4 separate regions of the Homo sapiens genome follow, and regions 2, 3 and 4 are each linked to region 1. Evidence: promoter capture Hi-C in human tissues and cell types (Jung and others, 2019). All regions are on one chromosome and are shown on one strand. Each heading gives the region's core, a stretch centred on a gene start or on the middle of the fragment in contact. The rest is flanking DNA. Distances are from core to core; before and after follow the strand shown.

The links. The method cuts DNA at HindIII sites, captures the fragments that hold promoters and counts their contacts. A contact is called where the count stands out against the background at its distance.
Region 2: a contact is called between a fragment that was not itself captured here and the fragment with the promoter of DHX8 in region 1, in 1 of the 25 tissues and cell types used here (small bowel).
Region 3: a fragment that was not itself captured here is called in contact with the fragment with the promoter of DHX8 in region 1 in 1 of the 25 tissues and cell types used here (spleen).
Region 4: a contact is called between a fragment that was not itself captured here and the fragment with the promoter of DHX8 in region 1, in 1 of the 25 tissues and cell types used here (thymus).

The regions. Positions count from the first base shown.
Region 1 is chr17:43,482,707-43,485,231 of GRCh38, forward strand. It overlaps DHX8 (DEAH-box helicase 8), which reads left to right and starts at 1,269. Exons shown (of 23, transcript NM_004941.3): 1 at 1,269-1,479. The coding sequence starts at 1,332. RefSeq lists enhancers at 962-1,804, 1,104-1,533. The HindIII fragment of the contact is 21,666 bases long and covers 1-2,525 here.
Region 2 is chr17:43,722,454-43,724,978 of GRCh38, forward strand. No RefSeq gene overlaps it. Among named protein-coding and RNA genes, the nearest start is that of SOST, 35 kb to the right of the region's middle. The HindIII fragment of the contact is 4,286 bases long and covers 1-2,525 here.
Region 3 is chr17:43,328,128-43,330,652 of GRCh38, forward strand. No RefSeq gene overlaps it. Among named protein-coding and RNA genes, the nearest start is that of LINC00910, 60 kb to the right of the region's middle. The HindIII fragment of the contact is 8,377 bases long and covers 1-2,525 here.
Region 4 is chr17:43,612,414-43,614,938 of GRCh38, forward strand. It overlaps LOC124904008 (a long non-coding RNA gene), which reads left to right and starts at 1,212. Exons shown (of 2, transcript XR_007065763.1): 1 at 1,212-1,333; 2 at 1,606-1,782. The HindIII fragment of the contact is 7,113 bases long and covers 1-2,525 here.

The sequences.
Region 1 (2,525 bases), core at 19-2,518:
ACATACCATCACGCCCAGCTAATTTTTGTATTTTTAGTACAGACGAGGTTTCACCATGTTGGCCAGAGTGGTCTTGAACTCCTGACCTCAAGTGATCCGCCCGTCTCGGCCTCCCAAAGTGCTGGGATTACAGGGGTGAGCCACAGTGCCCAGCCCCTGGGGGAATAAGTTCTGAGAGGACACAGGAAAACTGGGGATTGAAAAGCAGGTTTTCACAAGAGTGGAGGCAGCTGGCTCTGTGGGTTCCCAGACTAAGGGGATCTGTGCTTGACAGACCAGAGGCCAGTTCTGTGACCATCATCTCAGCCTTGAATTTTTTTTTTTTTTTTTTTGAGACAAAGTCTCACTCTGTCGCCCATGCTGGAGTGTAGTGGTGTGAACTCAGGTCACTCCAACCTCTGCCTCCTGGGTTCAAGCGATTCTTGTGCCTCAGCCTCCCGAGTAGCTGGGACTACAGGCGCCCACCACCACCACGCCCGGCTAAGTTTTCTATTTTTAGTAGAGATGGAGTTTCGCCACGTTGGCCAGGCTGGTCTGGAACTCCTGACCTCAAGTGATCCACCAGCCTCGGCCTCCCAAAGTGCTGGCATTACAGGCGTGAGCCACTGCACCCGGCCTAGCCTTGTGATATTAACAGTAACTGTCATTTGCGGTGTGCCTACTCTGTGTCACACTCCTTGCAGTTATTCCATTTAGGGTAGAGCAACATTATTCTAGTTTACAGATGAGAAAACTAAGGCCCCAGAGATTGATTTGCCCAAGCAGCCAGCTGGCAGTGGAAGTGCCAGTTTCTTCGTGTGTAAAACAAGAGAAGGCAATCTACTGCCTACTGGCTTGTCAAGGGTCACTTGAGATCGGACGACAGGAACCACAAAGAAGTGAGGCCGGGAATTTGCGGATCCACAGTAAAGCAAGTTTGTCTTTTTCCAGACGTGCATTAAGATTCCTTTTTCAAGTGTTCTAAAGCGCAGGCGCAGGCTGTTTTGCGGTTGCCTCCCGGCGCCTCTTGTGCAGGCCGGGGTCGCCCTCTGCCGACCCAGGGCGGGAGCGCGCTGAGTGAACGTTTCCAGGCCTGAGGGCGGGCGGAGATTTTTCTCGCCTGTAGAGGGCGCAGATCGGCGTGCAGAGTAACCCACTCTAGTTGTCCCTTCCTTAAGCACTTCCTGTTTGATCTCTATGATCCATCCTGTTGGGACTTGATTCGTTCCTCAAATTTTCAATTTACCGTAAACAAAGGGGACGCGCGCTGACCCGGAAGTGAAAGCTGGAACCCGGCCGGAGTAGCTCTGAGCGCCGGCTGTGAGGAAGGAGGTTCTGGGCAAGCTATAGCCATGGCTGTGGCTGTAGCCATGGCGGGAGCCTTAATCGGGTCGGAGCCAGGCCCCGCGGAAGAACTTGCCAAACTCGAGTACCTGTCTTTGGTGTCAAAGGTTTGCACTGAGCTGGACAATCACTTGGGGATCAACGACAAGGACCTTGGTGAGCTCGGGGAGGTCCCTGGGACCTCAGTTTGGGATTGAGGGAAGCGGAAGGAGGAAGGAGGAAGGAGAAAGGTGGTTGATGGACCGAAAGTATGTTCGTGTGAATCTGTCTCTCTCTGTCGCAGACACCGGTGCCCAGGGTACACGCTGCCGTGGCCTCGGCTTGAGAGCCCTCGAGAAACTTTAGAAACTTTCCCAGAGCTGTCAGTGAAGCCCGGGGCGGTCATCTCTGCTTGATTGTTTTTTGTTTGTTTTTTCAGCCTCAATTAAACATGTTTAACAACAACAGCAGCAGATGCTGCGATGACGACGATGATGGCTGACGTTTATTGGGTGCTCACTATGTGCTAGATGCGATGCTCAGCTCTTTATTGACATTATTTTATTTGGTCTTCACGCCACTCTGTGACATAGTAGTTAGCGTCTGTGCTTTTAACTGTGTTCTTTGACCGTTCATCCTGTACTCTTTTTTGAGGCAGGGCCTCGCTCTGTTTCCCGGGCTGGAGTGCAGTGGCACGATCTCGGCTCACTGCAGCCTCCACCTCCTGGGCTCAAGCAGTCCTCCCACCTCAGCCTCCCGAGTAGCTGGGACTACAGGCGGGCGCCACCAAGCTCGACTCATTTTTAAATTTTTTGTAGAGACGGGGGTCTCACTGTATTGCCCAGGCTGGTCTCGAACTTCTGGGCTCAAGCAGTCCTCTTCCCTCGGCCTCCCAAAGTGTTGGGATTACAGGCGTGAGCCATTGCGTCCTGTACTATGTCTTAAACACCAGTCACTAGATGTTTTGGGGCAAACTACATCTGGGGAGCCGAAACTGAGGAATTAGAAAAGGCTAGGGTCCTAAAGCTAAAGCCATAGACAGATGGAGCCTTTATGAAGGTACAGAGGATGGATGGGATCAAGGGCAACCAATGGATGGATTGACCTTTGGTACGTACAGCAAGGCTTCTTCAGTTGTAACAGGAGCGAGGACAGAGAATACAGTTGCAGATTCAGATGAGTTTAGAGATTGGTGGTGGGAAGATGAGTGAGAGAGTTCCAGC
Region 2 (2,525 bases), core at 15-2,514, 240 kb after region 1:
TCACATGGCTGCCCTGCCTGCCTAAGCTGGCCATCAGCTGCTTGTTGCCATACTGAAAAAGAGGGTTTGGTTTTGCCTCGCCTTGCTTTTTCAATAGAAGCCAGAAACTTGAATTTTTATGTAAAAATTTCCAATTTGTCAAATGCCATTGTAGCCAAACAAAAATCTAGCCTCAGGCTGGATCCACCATAGAGTTTCAGTTTGAGACCCCGATGGGAACCAGTCCCCTGGGCACATGCTGCTCTCTCTCCTCCATACCATGCAACACAGTCCTTTGCTGAGATTTGACAAGGGAAACACAGTCATAGATGAAACCCCCTACAGCTGCTGCAAAGCCCTTCAGAAACATGAGATTGGCCTCTGAACCAGAGGAAAGTAACGTGGGGCTGTACAACAGCAGCCAGCCTGTGAGACTGATGGATAAAGCTTTAATTTATCGGTGCACCTTGTTTGGAGAAAGCTTCCCTGCCCTCTTGGCTGCCCCCACCTCCAACCCCTCCTGTTTTGCTAATGATAAATGACAAGCAGTGGACATTTATTAATTAAACCACCCGCTGTAGCCATTGGTAAAACCCAAGGCCACATGCAGGGGAAGCATTCAAAGCATTCCTGCTGCCCCTGCCCAGGGCACAGGCCCCAGGGTTATCCTTTGCTGGAGAGAGCAGGCCACGGCGGCCACAGCCTCACATGATGGGCCTTCCTAGGATCTGTCTGGGTTCTGGCTGATAAATGGAAATCACCTCCATGGGCCACACAGTAATTAAACTCCTGGCATTCTTTTGACAAAAAAAAAGTTCCTCATGGGACATTCCCACAAGCTGCTGAAGGTCTGGGCCCTGCAAGCTCCCAGCTGATTACCAAGGAGTTTTCGAAGTTGGCCTTGACTGAGGATCAAAGGAGGATGGGAGTTCAGGGAATGAGGGTGGGGGTGGGAAATGCCTTAGAATTAAGTTGATGATGGCCTGTTGCGGTGGCTTATGCCTCTAATCTCAGTGCTTTGGGAGGCTGAGGCGGGAAAATCACTTGAGCCCAGGAGTTTGAGACCAGCATGGACAACATGGTGAGACCTTTTCTTAACAAAAAATTTAAAAATTAGCCTGGTGTGGTGGCACATGCCTGTGGTCCCATCTACACGAGGAGGCTGAGGTGCTAGGATTGCTTGAGTCCAGGAGGTTGAGGATGCAGTGAGCTGTGTTTGCACCACTGCACTTCAGCCTGGTGAAGGAGGAGACCCTGAGACAGAAGGAGACCCTGTCTCAAAAAAAAGTTGATCATTTGGATGTTCGGCCTGAAACACCCACATTTATTTCCCCAGGACCGAGATGGGCAGAGAGATAAAAGCAGGCCTTCAAGGCTCATTTATTTATATTTCTACTGTTTATTTGTTCCACTGATGTACCCCAAGTACCTAAAACAGAGCCTGGAACATAGTAGGTGCTCAGTAAATATTTGTTGACTGATTAGCTGGAGATGTGCTCATGTCTTTTTAACGAAAGCAGTAATCAGGAGAAATTCCTAATTAAGGTCCTAGAACCAGTGGCTTCTAATTGTTTGCTGCCACAGGATTGTAAACATGTTGAAGATGAGGCCAGTGTCTTATTCAATTGACTGTCCCCAGAAGCAGGCACAGTGCCCAGCCTAGGGCCTACACACCGTGGTTTCTCAACGATATCAATTGTCTGAATGACTCAGGGGTAAACCATTTTTCAGTGCTGGGTCAGGCAGAGCCCCACTGGGACGTGACCTGCACACACTTTGGCAGTCCCCTGGGATGCAGTGGTAGCAGCAGCAGAGTCATAAAGCCTGGGGATCAGAGCCACACTGGATATCACAGCTGGAAAGGCCTGAGATCTCAGCCAGTCCCTTGCTAAGCAGAAAGAAGAAATGAATTAGCTACAAATCTTGGGGCCTCTAAAAACACAGCTTCATTTTTCTGTTTCTCCTATAGACTCCCCATTCTGTCCAACTGCCAAAAACATTTAAGTTTATTTAATAATCAATGTCAGCTGAAGTTGGTCATATCAGACTTAAATTCAATCTATTCCCAGTTGCCTCAACTTCCCTTGTCAGGTCATCTACTTAGTTCTAGTGGCTTCTGTGCCATAGGAGGGGGAGCTGGAGGAGGGGGAGAGCCGAGCCATGGTCATCAGTATCTGTCTTCACTAACCTCTTGGGCATGGTCACCCCATTTTGTTGGTGTCTGCTAAATCCACATCTTTTTTTTCTGTAGTAATTAGCCCACACACTCTGTGTCCTCCTGACTCTGCAGCTGAGGCCCTCCCAGCCCACCAGGCCCTGCCCAGCACCTTCCATGCCTTCCTTGGAAGTGTTGGAAAACTAGCTGGCCCCTCATACTATAGGGACCCAGGGAAGTTCTGATTGACCCTGGGTGCCATGATAGAACAGGACTCCACCCACTCAGCATTCCAGATAAACAGTGGACACAGTCTCCTTTGCACTCCTATTTTCCCAACTGGTTGGGAGGATTCTGTTGGTGCCTGCTCCCCACCCTATTGGGATCTCTG
Region 3 (2,525 bases), core at 12-2,511, 150 kb before region 1:
AAAAAGTGGTTATCATCAGGCAGAAATGTGTTTAAGGCAGTTTCAATGTTGCAAGCAACACCTGCTGCGTACACCAAATCAGAAACTATGTTAACTGGTTCAGGGAAATATTCAAGAACAGCCATGACAGCAGTCAGCTCAGCTTGTTGTGCTGAAGTAGCTCCTGAGTTAAGGACACATTCTTTTGGCCCTGCATATGCTCCTTGGTCATTACAGGAAGCATCAGTAAAAACAGTGACAGCTTCAGCTAATGGAGTATCCATAGTAATGTTAGGTAAGATCCAAGAAGTAAGTTTAAGGAACTGAAATAGTTTTACATTAGGATAATGATTGTCAATTATACCCAGGAAACCTGCCAAATGTACTTGGCAAGCAATGCAGGTTGCAAAAGCCTGTTGGACTTGTAATCAGGTGAGGGAAACAATGATTTTTTGGGGCTCTGTACCCAAAAGATGAAGAAGGTGAGAAAGAGCTTGACCAATTAGGATAGAAATTTGATCTAGATAAACGGTAAGCGTCCGTAAAGAGCTGTGTGGAAGAAAGCACTATTCAATTAAATTATGTCCCTGGATAATGAGTCCTGTTGGTGAATGTTTAGTAGGAAAGATTAGTATTTCAAAAGGTAAATATGGATTCGCCCTGGTTACCTGAGACTGTTGAATGCGTTTTTCTATAAGTTGTAATTCAGAATCTGCCTCAGGGGTCAAAGACCTTTTGTTGCATAAATCAGGATTGCCCCATAATGTTGCAAACAGATTAGACATAGCATATGTAAGAATGCCTAAGGAGGGGCAAATCCAATTAATATCTCCAAGCATTTTTTGGAAATCATTTAGCGTTTTTAGAGAGTCTCATCTGAGTTGAACCTTTTGGGGCTTAATAACCTTGTCTTCTAGCTGCATTCCTAAATATTGATAAGGAGAAGAAGTTTGGATTTTTTCTGGAGCGACAGCCAAACCAGCTGTTGCAACTGCTTGTCGTACTGCAGAGAAACAAGATATTAATACAGAACGTGAAGGCACTGCACAAAGAATATCATCCATGTAATGAATGATAAAAAATTGGGGAAATTGATCTCTTACTGGCTTTAATATGCTCCCCACGTAATATTGACAAATGGTAGGCTATTAAGCATTCCCTGAGGTAGGACTTTCCAATGGTAACGTGCTGTGGGAGCGATGTTGTTAAGGGTTGGAACTGTGAAAGCAAATTTTTCAAAGTCCTGAGGGGCCAGAGGAATGTTGAAGAAGCAGTCTTTAAGATCAATGATGATAAGAGGCCAATACTTGGGAATCATAGCGGGGAAAGGCAAGCTGGGTTGTAATGTCCCCATAGGCTGAAGGACAGCACTTACTGCCCTAAGATCAGTAAGCATTCTCCACTTACCGGATTTCTTTTGGATAACAAAGACAGGTGAATTCCAGATAGAAAAAGATTGCTCGATGTGTCCCAATTTTAACTGTTCAAGGATCAAAATATGGAGTGCCTCCAGCTTATTTTTAGGGAGCGGCCACTGATTTACCCAAACCGGTTTCTGAGTTTTCCAAGTCAAGGGGATGGGATTTGGAGGCTTGATAGTGACCACTTCTAAAAAGAATAACCAAGTCCCGTAAAATCTGATTTATGGGTAGGTATAATAGGCTCGGTGATGCCTTGTGCTGATTTCCCTAAGCCCATAACTTGAACAAATCCCATTTTTGTCATAATGTCTTTACTTTGCTGGCTGTAATTGCCTTGTGGAAAAGAAATCTGTGCCCCTCGTTGTTGTAAAAGTTCTCTTCCCCACAGGTTAACAGGAATGGGTGTAATGAGGGGGCAAATAGTACCAATCTGTTCTTCTGGGCCCGTACAGTGTAAAATTGTAGAACTTTCATAGACTTCTGAAGCCTGACCAACACCAACTAATGCTGTGGACGCGTGTTCCTTTGGCCAGTGTCGGGGCCATTGATGTAAAGCGATAATGGAGACATCAGCGCCCGTATCAATCATTCCCTCAAACTTCCTTCCTTGAATATGCACAGAGCACACAGGACGAGTGTCAGAAATCTTGCTGGCTCAATAAGCTGCTTTGTCCTGATAGTCTGTGCTACCAAAACCTCCAGTTCTGGTACAAGAACTGGATCCTAAAGGAACGTAAGGGAGTATAAGAAGCTGAGCAATGCGGTCTCCAGCTGCCGTATATCAAGGGACTGCAGAGCTAATGACAATATGAATTTCACCTGAATAGTCAGAATCAATTACACCAGTATGTACTTGAACACCTTTTAAATTTAGGCTTGAGAGATCAAATAGCAAACCGACACTGCCAGTCGGCAAGGGGCCAAAAACACCTGTGGGAACAGCAATAGGTGGCTCTCCAGGTAACAGAGAAATATCTCTGGTACAACAGAGATCTACTGATGCTGAGCCTGTGGTGGCAGGGGACAAGCATTGTACTGAGATTCGTGTTGGGGCAGAGCCATTAGATCCTGTGGCACAAATTGCTGAAGTGGGAATTGGGATGTAGGTTGAATGGATTGGGCTGG
Region 4 (2,525 bases), core at 15-2,514, 130 kb after region 1:
AGGGGGCTGGAAATTTAGAGGATATGGAATTTAAAACAATAATTGCGGAAAGTGATGAAAGTGAAACTGTTGTGACATTTTTAACATTTTGACAGCACATGCACCCCTGCATGACACAGAAACAAAGGGATTTGGCCCTTCCATAGGAAGCTTCCAGAAGGCCTGTGGTTAATAACACCTCCTTCATGATTCCTAGATGGAAAACCAAAGTTGGTTTGAGGGTGTGTTTCAGACCCTTGCCTGAGGCAGCCGAAGTGCCAGTTAGAGCTCTGTGTCCTACCAAAGGTGACTCACCCCATGGACTCTGCACCTTTTCACTCTCACCTTTCAGAATTTCCAACTATTCCGATTTCATGGCCACTTTTATGGAGCTTCTTGATCCGCAAACTTCAGGCTACTTCCCTCCAACCCACATCATCTTATCTCCTGCCCTCTCTGACCTGGGCTCCTGGCCATGACATTTCTTTCTTGGCCAAGACCAGGAAAGTTCCCCCTAACTCTCTGGAACCCTTCTTCATCATGCCAGGTTCCATTCACAGTGACTTGTGTCATCCCTAGACCATTGCCAGGAATCTGATGATGAGTCCAAGAAATAACCTGTGACCCATATTTTCCAGAGTCCTGCAGGAATTTGACATTTGTAGATCTCAAAGTCTCACAATTGCTTTTTTTTTTTTTTTTTTTGTCTTTTTTAGATGGTCTTGCTCTTGCTCTGTCGCCCAGGCTGGAGTGCAGTGGTGCAAACTTGGTTTACTGCAGTCTTAAGTCTTAACCTCCTGTGCTCAAGTGATCCTCCTGCCCCAGCCTCCCAAAGTGCTGGGATTACATGCATGAGCCCCCATGCCCAGCCCAACAATTTCTTAATTATACTATAGCCTTTGCTTCCACAGGAAGGAAGGGAGGAAGAAATTATTTTTTTTTCCGAGACGGAGTCTCGCTGTGTCGCCCAGGCTGGAGTGCAGTGGCGTGATCTCGGCTCACTGCAAGCTCCACCTCCCGGGTTCCCACCATTCTCCTGCCTCAGCCTCCTGAGTAGCTGGGACTACAGGCACCTGCCACCGTGCCCGGCTCATTTTTTTGTATTTTTAGTAGAGACCGGGTTTTACCGTGTTAGCCAGGATGGTGTCGATCTCCTGACCTCCTGATCTGCCCGCTTCGGCCTCCCAAAGTGCTGGCATTACAGGCGTGAGCCACCGCGCCCGGCCGGGAGGAAGAAATATTAAGGGAACATCTAGTATGTGCTAGATATTTTCCTATTTTCTTTCTCATCTAGCTGCAAGATCATATGATAACATGAGACAGCAGAGAGGAGAAGACCCCTGTCTCACAGCCAGTAAGTGGTAGGGCTGAGGTTTGAACTCGGGTTTCTCCAACTCCAAAGCCTGGGCTCTTTCCTTCATGCAGTCTCCACACAAGAACTTGCACAGGTGCTCAAGGGTGCTGAGGAGGAGTGTTTGGTTGAAGATGCAAGAAGAGAGAGAGATTAAATGGGAGTGGGCTTAGATGAGGGAGGAAGAAGATGATGGGGAAGGAAGGTGGCAGACGGACTGAGTGATGGAGAAGGGAGGTGGGGGAGGGAAGGGTCACAGGGTTCTGCTTTGACAGGGATTTGGGATCCCAAGAATGGAGCTTTTTTTCCACACTGTGCCTTGCTGGAATCACCTCACGTCCCCACATGCGATGAGCTCATCCTTCTCTTGGCACCACCTGCCTCTCATCTTGGCCCTGGCTGGGACGCACCAACGTTTCTGCAGGAGGAATAAAGCAATAACAGGAATCTCATTTTTCTCCTTAAAATAATATCTCTCTGTTCTGCCAGCAAGCAGGGAGCTACTCCTGCCAGCACTCCAGTGGGAAGCCTGTTCCCAATCCGATAGGATTAGTCTGATACTGGCTTCCCAGGAGCCCCCAGTAGCCAAGGCAGCCCTCAGGTGACCTTGAGCTCCTGGCTACAGATCCCCTGATGTCCTTCTCAGCCCCCAGATAGTCACTCACCTCCATGCCTCCATCCCAGGCTCTCCAGGGCAAAGGGATGCTATTCTCACTAGTCCCAGGCTCCCCTAGCTGGTAGCTCCTTCACCATCTCTCTAGGACCTAACCAATTTCCTACAAGGAAAGGATCACTGGAAAAACCATTTTGAACAGGAAGAATTTAATTTTTTTGCAACAGGCTTTCCCCTCTTTAAAGAAAAGAAAGAAAAAAGAGTCCTCATTTACCTAAAGGTCTGAGTGCCTGGAAATTTCTTCCCTGTGTGCACATTACCCACTTCCTGGCTGCAGGGATGGAAGGACTCGGAGAATTCGAAGGATATTAAACAGATTCATAATGGACTCAGCAGTATAAACATGTCTCAAGTGCAGACAGAAATGCCACAAGCTCCTACTTGGTTTAATGAAAACATACACCAGTTGTGTCTGTGTTCCCATTTTACAAATAAACAAGGTGGGGAGATGGACTCGGAAATTGTCCCTGGGGAGCCAGGTGCCTCTGTTCATTGCAATTTCAATGGCTTCTCCTGCCCACA